2 separate regions of the Homo sapiens genome follow, and region 1 is linked to region 2. Evidence: promoter capture Hi-C in 16 types of primary human blood cells and fetal thymus (Javierre and others, 2016). All regions are on one chromosome and are shown on one strand. The core of a region is centred on a gene start or on the middle of the fragment in contact, and the rest is flanking DNA. Distances in the headings are between cores, read along the strand shown. Region 1 holds the start of CCDC24 (coiled-coil domain containing 24). Region 2 overlaps ST3GAL3 (ST3 beta-galactoside alpha-2,3-sialyltransferase 3).

Region 1 (3,707 bases), core at 906-3,405, 230 kb after region 2:
AAAGCCTTAACAGGCACTTTGAGGGAGGGAGGAGTGAGATAGGAATTTTAGTTGAATGGATTGGTCAACAGGTTACTGGAGGAGCTATGAATATTTACGGAGGGGGTCCTGACATATGCATATCGAACAAACATGCATGTTATATACCATCCATGTTCACCTTGGGGTGGAGACTTAATATTTAAATATATCGCAGTTAGGCCCCATACGTCAAAAAGACAAAAGCACTCAAGTGCGCAGCCTCTGTAAGCTGGCTAGAACCAGTCCATGGCCGATGGTCTTATCAGGAGAAAGTTACTGAGATCAGTCTCTTGTCCCACCAAAGCTATAATTATGGCTTGTGGAACAGGGGCGTAGGGGTCAGCATCTGGCAGTGGGTGAGCTGCAAATTTTTTTCTATTATTTATATTACCACATTATACAAATTGTTTTAATATTGGTTATCTCAAGTCCTGTACTTGTTTAGCTGCTACAGAAAAAGAAAATCCTCGCGGCAGTTAGAGCATAGTCTCTTCTTTAAGTGCAGAGGTGCAAGACTTAACCCTTGCCTGGCATGGCCTTAGATCCTATTTATAATTAGGTATCTTATTGACACAAACAATGCATTCTGTCAGTCTTGTGATCTCTGCTTTGACGTTAATGCTGGTCATTTGTTGTGTCTAAGCTGCAAAAGGGCGTGGGCATAACATGGCATGTTTGACGTCCCTTCCCATCATAGCTGGAAACCCTGTTTTTAAGGTTCCCTGGGGTCCCCTTGGCCAAAAGGGGGTCCATTTAGTTGGTTGGGGGGTGTAGGATTTTATTTTTAGTTTACAGTTGTTAGCCCTGATGTGGACCATTTCCATCCTATCTAGGTTTACCAAGATTCAAAACACGAAGCTGACCATGAAGCGGGACGGCATTGGGTCAGTGCGGTACCAGGTCTTGGAGGTGTCTCGGCAACCACTCTTCACCAATATCACAGTGGACATTGGGCGGCCTCCGTCGTGGCCCCCTCGGGGCTGACACTAATGGACAGAGGCTCTCGGTGCCGAAGATTGCCTGCCAGAGGACTGACCACAGCCTGGCTGGCAGCTGCTCTGTGGAGGACCTCCAGGACTGAGACTGGGCTCTGTTTTCCAAGGGTCTTCACTAGGCCCCCTAGCTACACCTGGAAGTTTCAGAACCCACTTTGGGGGGCCTCCTGCCTGGGCAGGCTCTTCAAGTGTGGCCCTCTTTGGAGTCAACCCTCCTTCCCGACCCCCTCCCCCTAGCCCAGCCCCAGTCACTGTCAGGGTCGGGCCAGCCCCTGCACTGCCTCGCAGAGTGGCCTGGGCTAGGTCACTCCACCTCTCTGTGCCTCAGTTTCCCCCCCTTGAGTCCCCTAGGGCCTGGAAGGGTGGGAGGTATGTCTAGGGGGCAGTGTCTCTTCCAGGGGGAATTCTCAGCTCTTGGGAACCCCCTTGCTCCCAGGGGAGGGGAAACCTTTTTCATTCAACATTGTAGGGGGCAAGCTTTGGTGCGCCCCCTGCTGAGGAGCAGCCCCAGGAGGGGACCAGAGGGGATGCTGTGTCGCTGCCTGGGATCTTGGGGTTGGCCTTTGCATGGGAGGCAGGTGGGGCTTGGATCAGTAAGTCTGGTTCCCGCCTCCCTGTCTGAGAGAGGAGGCAGGAGCCCCAGGGCCGGCTTGTGTTTGTACATTGCACAGAAACTTGTGTGGGTGCTTTAGTAAAAAACGTGAATGGAGCAGCTCCCTTGTCTGTTTGGGGGTGGGGGTCGGGTCCCTGAACGTGGTTACCCTGAGTGTGTTGTGGTGGAAGGGCACTTGGGGAACCTGGCCCAACAAGTAAACCTGACCCGGGCCATCCTGGTTCTCCAAGCGCTGCCACTCCCTAGGCTTTCACTGGCCTTAAGGGGAAGTTTGTCCTTGCACTGCTTCCGGGACAGTGGAGGCGACGAAGTAATAAACCCGTGGACCCAGATTTCTCAGGTCTTAACACGTTCCCTGAGGCCTAAAGGTGCCCAGGGCCGAGCCCAAAGTGCTTGGGTCAGGGCTCGGTGGAGCGCCGAGGTGAGTCTGAACTCCCAGCCGGCACGCGCCGCCCGCCGGACCAAACACGGGAGGGGGCGGGGCCCTAGAGTCGCGGCGTGGTTTCCCGGGTGATGGCCACGCGGAAGAGGTGGGGCTAGGGCCCTGGTTCCCACTGCCTGGTTTCTGGGCCCCCGGCATCCGAGTCGGCCAAAAGCCGGGCAGAAGAGAGCGCCAAGGACTGGCAGTTCCGGAACGGGCAATCCCAGCCGAGGGGACCAGCGGCAGAGCACGGGTGGGGCTTGGGAGAGGGCGGGGCCCATAGAGGGGCGGGGTTTGGTGAGCGTTGCCGGCGGGCCCGCGGTACCTCCCGCACTCTGACCTGCGGCCCGTAGGTCCGAGCCGGGGACGGCGGCGTCGGTGGGTCATGCTCCGGCACTCCCCCTCGCTGTGGGAGCTGGTGGAGGAGCACGTTCCGCTCCGGGAGCGACGCGAAGTGAAGAGGATTCTGGGGGAGGCGGCGGTGGACCTGAGCCTGGAGCTGCGGGCGGAGGTGGGGAGAGGGAAGGTGGGCCACGCCCCTGGCCTGCCCCACGACTCGGGTGATTTCCCACCTCTGCGGGTCCCTGGCCCTGCCGGGTAACTCCCGAGATCCTATCCTGGTCTCCCCTTTGACTCCGCCCTCTCCCTCACTCCCCCAGCCCCCACCATTCCGGACACTCCCCTCCCCAGTCGCAAGGTATCCCAGCTCTCCTTGCAGGTGGCGATGTTACGGGCACTGCTCCAAGAGGCTCGATCCTCTCAAGCCCCCAGCTCCCGCCCCATCTCTGACCCCTCTTCTCTTCTGGCACCACCGCCTCTCCTAAAGGACCTCTTGCGCCAGGAGCTCCGGCAGTTGCTCCAGGGTCTCCGCCACAAAGCCATCTGTGAGGGCAGGTGGGAGCCTCAGGCCTGGGCCCTTTCCCTAGATACCAGGTGGGCTAGCGCTGCCCCTAACAAGGAGCCAGGGTTGCCTTTTCTGTGGTTTCCAGAAAGGAGCCTCTCAGCTTCCTTCCTGTGCACCTTCTGCAGGGACCAGGCCCAAGCTTGGGTCCAGTATAGCCCCAGGGTCCTGCACTTTGCCTTGGAGGAGCCCAGGTGTGATTTGCCAGAACAGGAGATATTCCAGATGAGAGGTGGTGGGCCCAGGTAAGGTGATGGTAGGAGAGAGGGATCTGTCCCTGCTTGGCAGAGGGCCCTAGCCCACTGGTGGGTTGCACCTGGCTCCATGCAGGAGATTCCAGTCACGGGCTGGGCACTTCCACCGCCACTTGTGATAGAGATTATCAGCCCATGAGGGCTACTGAAACCCAGAGGAAACACCTGCCTAGCCTGGGGACAGGCAAAGCTTCCTGGAGAAAGTGGTTTGATCTGCGTGTTGTAGTATGAGGAGCAGTTTTCAGGGAGATGAAAGAGAAGAGCTTTGTAGGAAGAGGGAAGAAAGGAAGCCATGTCCAGCAGGCGGTTGTTCCTCTGGCCTAGAGAACAGGAGTGAGGGCTGGGCTAGGGAGGCAGGGAGAGCTGAAGAGGATGGTCACAAATGGTATTTACAGCTGGGACTGAATGAGATAAAATATTCATAAGTGGATGGCAGCAACTTCTTATTCTAATCCTCACACAGCCTGAGGAGGTGGGCAAAATCTCCATTTTGCACAAGAGG
Region 2 (4,042 bases), core at 745-3,244:
CAGACAGATAGGAGGGAAAACCAACAGAAGAAAAAGTTTCAAGAAGTCGTGCAAAGGCATGTATGTGCCCTTGCCCTTGGACCCAGCATTTCCACTTCTAGGAATTCCCCTACTGGGATTCTTGCACACTTGCAAAATGATATATGCACAAGGTTACCCATCGCAGCACTTTGTTTATTTGCAGCATTGTTTTTAATAGCAAAAATTTGGAAGCAATTAGAATGTTTACCAGTAGAGAACAAGTTAATTAAATCATGGTTCCCCCATCCGGTGAGTACTCTGCACCTGAAGATGAGGAGGCTCTGTATACACTAATATGAAAAGATTTCTGAAATATACTGTTAGGTGTAAAAAAGCAAGGATGGGGAGTTTTCTTTGGGGCTTATAATGTTTTAAACTTTTATCATTGTTGTAAATGGATGTAGCTGGTTGTTATATTCCTTACAATTACGAGATACTGGGTTCTTGGGTTTGTTTTTCTATGAGTTCTAGTATTCTGTTATTCTTTCTAACTTTCTTATTATGAGCAATAGTTGGCATGGAGGAGTGGCGGATCAAATTTTTAGGTTATTAAATAGGCTCCATTTCAAGCCAATCAGCGTTGCCTTCTGCTGTTTTGTGCCTGGCTGCCAAGTGCCTTTATATGGTGTTTCAGCTTTTTAATGGAGCTTTGATATGTAGCAGTCACCCTGAGCCACAAGAGGGCAGAAGAACCTTTTGATTGCCACAGGACAGATTAGCGCTGGAATGACTTCTGGCAAAATCCTGCATGGAGTAGTTCTTCAACTCACTTACTAGACCGTGGGCATCCAAAGGCAGGCCAGTGTCTAAGCCATCAGAGGAGGCAATGGAGGGGTGAGAGGAGAGAGTGTGTGTTTTGGAATCCTCTATATCTGCCTTATGTTCCAGGCTCCCCTGCAAATTACTTAGTGAACTATACTCCTTACAGTGTTAACCTCTCTCAGAGCTTGAATATGCAAGACAGTAGAGGCATTACAACATAGTGGAACATAAGAGTTGAGGCTTTGGAATCCACCCCACCTAACGTTGAGTCCTGGCTATGTGACTTTGGGTCATTTCTTAACTGTCATTTATTCAATGAGATAGTGTGTGTAGAGCTCTTAGCACTGTGTTGTGAACACTCAGAAAGTAACTGCTATAATTACAATAGTACAAGGTATCAGCACAGATGAATAATATTAATAGATCCTTAATAACTTTTATGTAGCTCTGTTATGTATTTAATAATTTATTTGGTTATAAGCAAGGAGGTAATATTTTCCTTAAGACAATTTCAGAGCTCCTTTTCTCAGAGGGGCCCTCAAAATGTCTGTGGTATTTCTTACTTTCTTATAAACAGTCTTTTAATAGTATAGTACATTCTGAATTTTTGCAGAGTCTCAATTTTAAAGGTTCCATCCCACTGTGATTTTGTGTATTTTTGATTGGAAAATATAGTATTTGGGCTATATAATGAGGTAGAGTCGCGCAACACAATATTGCATCGGGATATAGTACCTGTCTCAGGCCGAGATCCAGGGGAAGCAAACTCTGAGATAAAGATTAGGGTGTGAAAAGCTTATTAGGGAGTGGTTATGGAATCAATACTCCTGGAAGGAAAAGAAAGGAAATGAGGAAGAAGGGAAAAGAAAAGGGAAAGATGTGGAGATTGTATAGGGGGAAAAATCGGGCCGTGATTCAGTCTCAGTAAAAGGCCTCAGCCCACCCCATGGGGACTAGGGCTCAGATAATCCATGTTTTCTAAGCCATAGAGTGAGAGAGCTGTGCCTTTACAGCTCCTCCTGACCCGTCATTGGACGAGGGCTGCCCCAGGAAGGGGCATGGCCGTGGGCCAGGCAGCGCTCTTCAGCAGATGCATTCCCTGAAGAGGGCTGACAGTTGAGGCCTTTCTGTCCTTCACCATCCCAGCAGCTGGGGAATAAGCCCTTTAGTTACTGAGTGGCCTCTACAGCTTCCACCATAGTGCCCAAAGGGCTCTCCTGAAAGGGCTGGTAGAGTAATAGAAGACAGCTTTAGACAGAATTGCTTTGAAGCAATACTTAAGAATACTTGTTATTTTTAACTTTAAGAATAAAAATAAAAATAATTTCATTTTTCATTTATCATTTTAGTGTCAGGGTGAACTCTAGTGTAACCAACTACCCCCAAATTTCAGTGGTTTTAACACAATAAAGGTTATTTCTCTCCTGTCACAATCTGGTGCAGTTCTATATTGGTGGGGAGGAATTCTGCTCTACCTAATTCATTTAGGGCCACAGACTTCATCTAGTGACTCCCCCAGGCCCTAGGGCCTGGAGTCCTTCACTGGATTCTCTAAACCAGCTCCCAGAGGAGAAATGGACAGGAACATGGAGAACTGTGCAGGTCTCAGTGAAGAGACCTCTCTCTTCAAGCTTCTCTCTTCAAGCACAGAGAAGTTCATGTGCTTCCCTGCAGCGCACGTTCCACAGATCAGTACTCAGTCGTGTGGTCCCACCTAACTGAGAGGAGGCCACGTAGCCCTCACAGCTACACTGTGATGTTGCTCATACCTGTGTGGTGGCTCCATTTCATCACTATTGGTGAATCAAAGACACTTCTAAAACTGTATGTTTTAGGTTCCCCACACTTAAAATACTTAAATTGCCACCATCATAGTATCATAGTTTTACTTACCTGGGGACATTTTAAAAGGCTGAGGAAAGCTAAACTTTATCAGAGAGAAGGAAAAGAAGGGAGGAATACAGAGCTGAGAATTTAAGGATTCCTTGCTCTGGAAAGGCAAAAAAGGGTAAAACAATTTCATGTGCATGTGTGTGTCTGTGTGTGTCTGTGTGTGTGTGTGTGTGTGTGTGTGTGTGTGCGCGCGCGCGCGCGCGTCCGCGCGTCCGCGTGCGCTTTTTTTTTAGTGGTATAGGAGAAGATTGAGAAGCTTCTGATCCTGCCATGTAGCTGTAAAAACAAGCTCCTCTTTCCCTCAGCCATAACAGGATTGATGTCTTTCACATGGTAACAATGGAGATAGATGTGTGCTGCAGGGAAGCACATGAGCTTCTCTGTGCTTGAAGAAAGAAGCTTGAAGAGACAGGTCTCTTCACTGAGACCAGCACCATTATTCATGTTCCTATTTCTCCTCTAAGAGCTGGAATAAAAAATCCAGTGGAGGAAATTACAAGGAAATAGTCATTCAAATAGCCCTGACAGCTCCTTGCCCGGATTCACATGAATACCACCCAAGTAGCCCTTAAGTCAGAGGAAGAGAGGCCAAGGGAGAGATATCAATGACTTCTTCTGTCAGTCTATGAGGATTACTGCTGACTGACAGCTTGTTACTTACTCAGCTTTATTCCAGGCAGTGTGGGGCATTTAGGAAGAGAGGTGCCTGGGCCTGGGAATTTTAAAGACTGAAAGCTGAGACTCACAGGAAGTAACCAAGGACAAGACAATGAGATGAAGTGTTTCAGAGACAACAAAGAAGTGGCGATTTAAAAAAAAATAAGTAAATAAATAAGAAGTGATGTCAAGGAAAGCTTTGAGGAAGAGATGGGCACTGAAGCAGGGACCTGGCGGTTGGGGTAGGACATGTGGGGACCTGGGAAAGTGCTCTAGCAGACAGAGTACTCGAAATATTTTGTAAGCTTCAGTGAGAGCTGAGAGCGGCTTGTGAGGAATGGTGGGGGGCGGGGAGTAGTGAGACCGAGGATTGCAGAGCAGGGCAGAGTCGATGACAGAAGGCCCTAAGGTGAGGTGTGGAGTTTAGATTTAATGCAGCAGGGCCATTAAAGGCTTCTACCCTTAATGGAAAGACCTGGTGGAAAAGTAGTGTTCTGGACTTTTGTGTGAAGGAAAATTAACAACACAGAGGTCTCTTCTGGAATTTCTGTTGAGCACCTAGAATTTAAAATGGGAGGTTGTGTTCCTTTATTCCCTCAGCAAAATAAGAGGAAGTGACTCTCAAGCCTGGACTTGAAAGATGAATGAATAAGATGAGAAGTGCATTCTAGGCAGTGATAGTAGCATGAATAAAGTGGAGGGGCCTGGA

Evidence for each region. Contacts are between HindIII fragments. The CHiCAGO score rates a contact against its expected background, and 5 or more counts as called.
Region 1: a contact is called between the fragment with the promoter of CCDC24 here and a fragment that was not itself captured in region 2, in 1 of 17 cell types (endothelial precursors). The highest score is 6.0, in endothelial precursors.

Annotation. Positions count from the first base shown.
Region 1 is chr1:43,989,444-43,993,150 of GRCh38, forward strand. It overlaps CCDC24 (coiled-coil domain containing 24), which reads left to right and starts at 2,156. Exons shown (of 9, transcript NM_152499.4): 1 at 2,156-2,303; 2 at 2,404-2,561; 3 at 2,769-2,944; 4 at 3,080-3,196. The coding sequence starts at 2,436. B4GALT2 (beta-1,4-galactosyltransferase 2) reads left to right here. Exons shown (of 7, transcript NM_003780.5): 7 at 855-1,725. The coding sequence ends at 1,005. RefSeq lists silencers at 2,310-2,419, 2,560-2,609. The HindIII fragment of the contact is 1,600 bases long and covers 1,492-3,091 here.
Region 2 is chr1:43,762,923-43,766,964 of GRCh38, forward strand. All of the region lies in intron 2 of ST3GAL3 (ST3 beta-galactoside alpha-2,3-sialyltransferase 3), which reads left to right. Among named protein-coding and RNA genes, the nearest start is that of ST3GAL3-AS1, 38 kb to the left of the region's middle. RefSeq lists enhancers at 749-838, 869-928, 3,967-4,042. The HindIII fragment of the contact is 836 bases long and covers 1,577-2,412 here.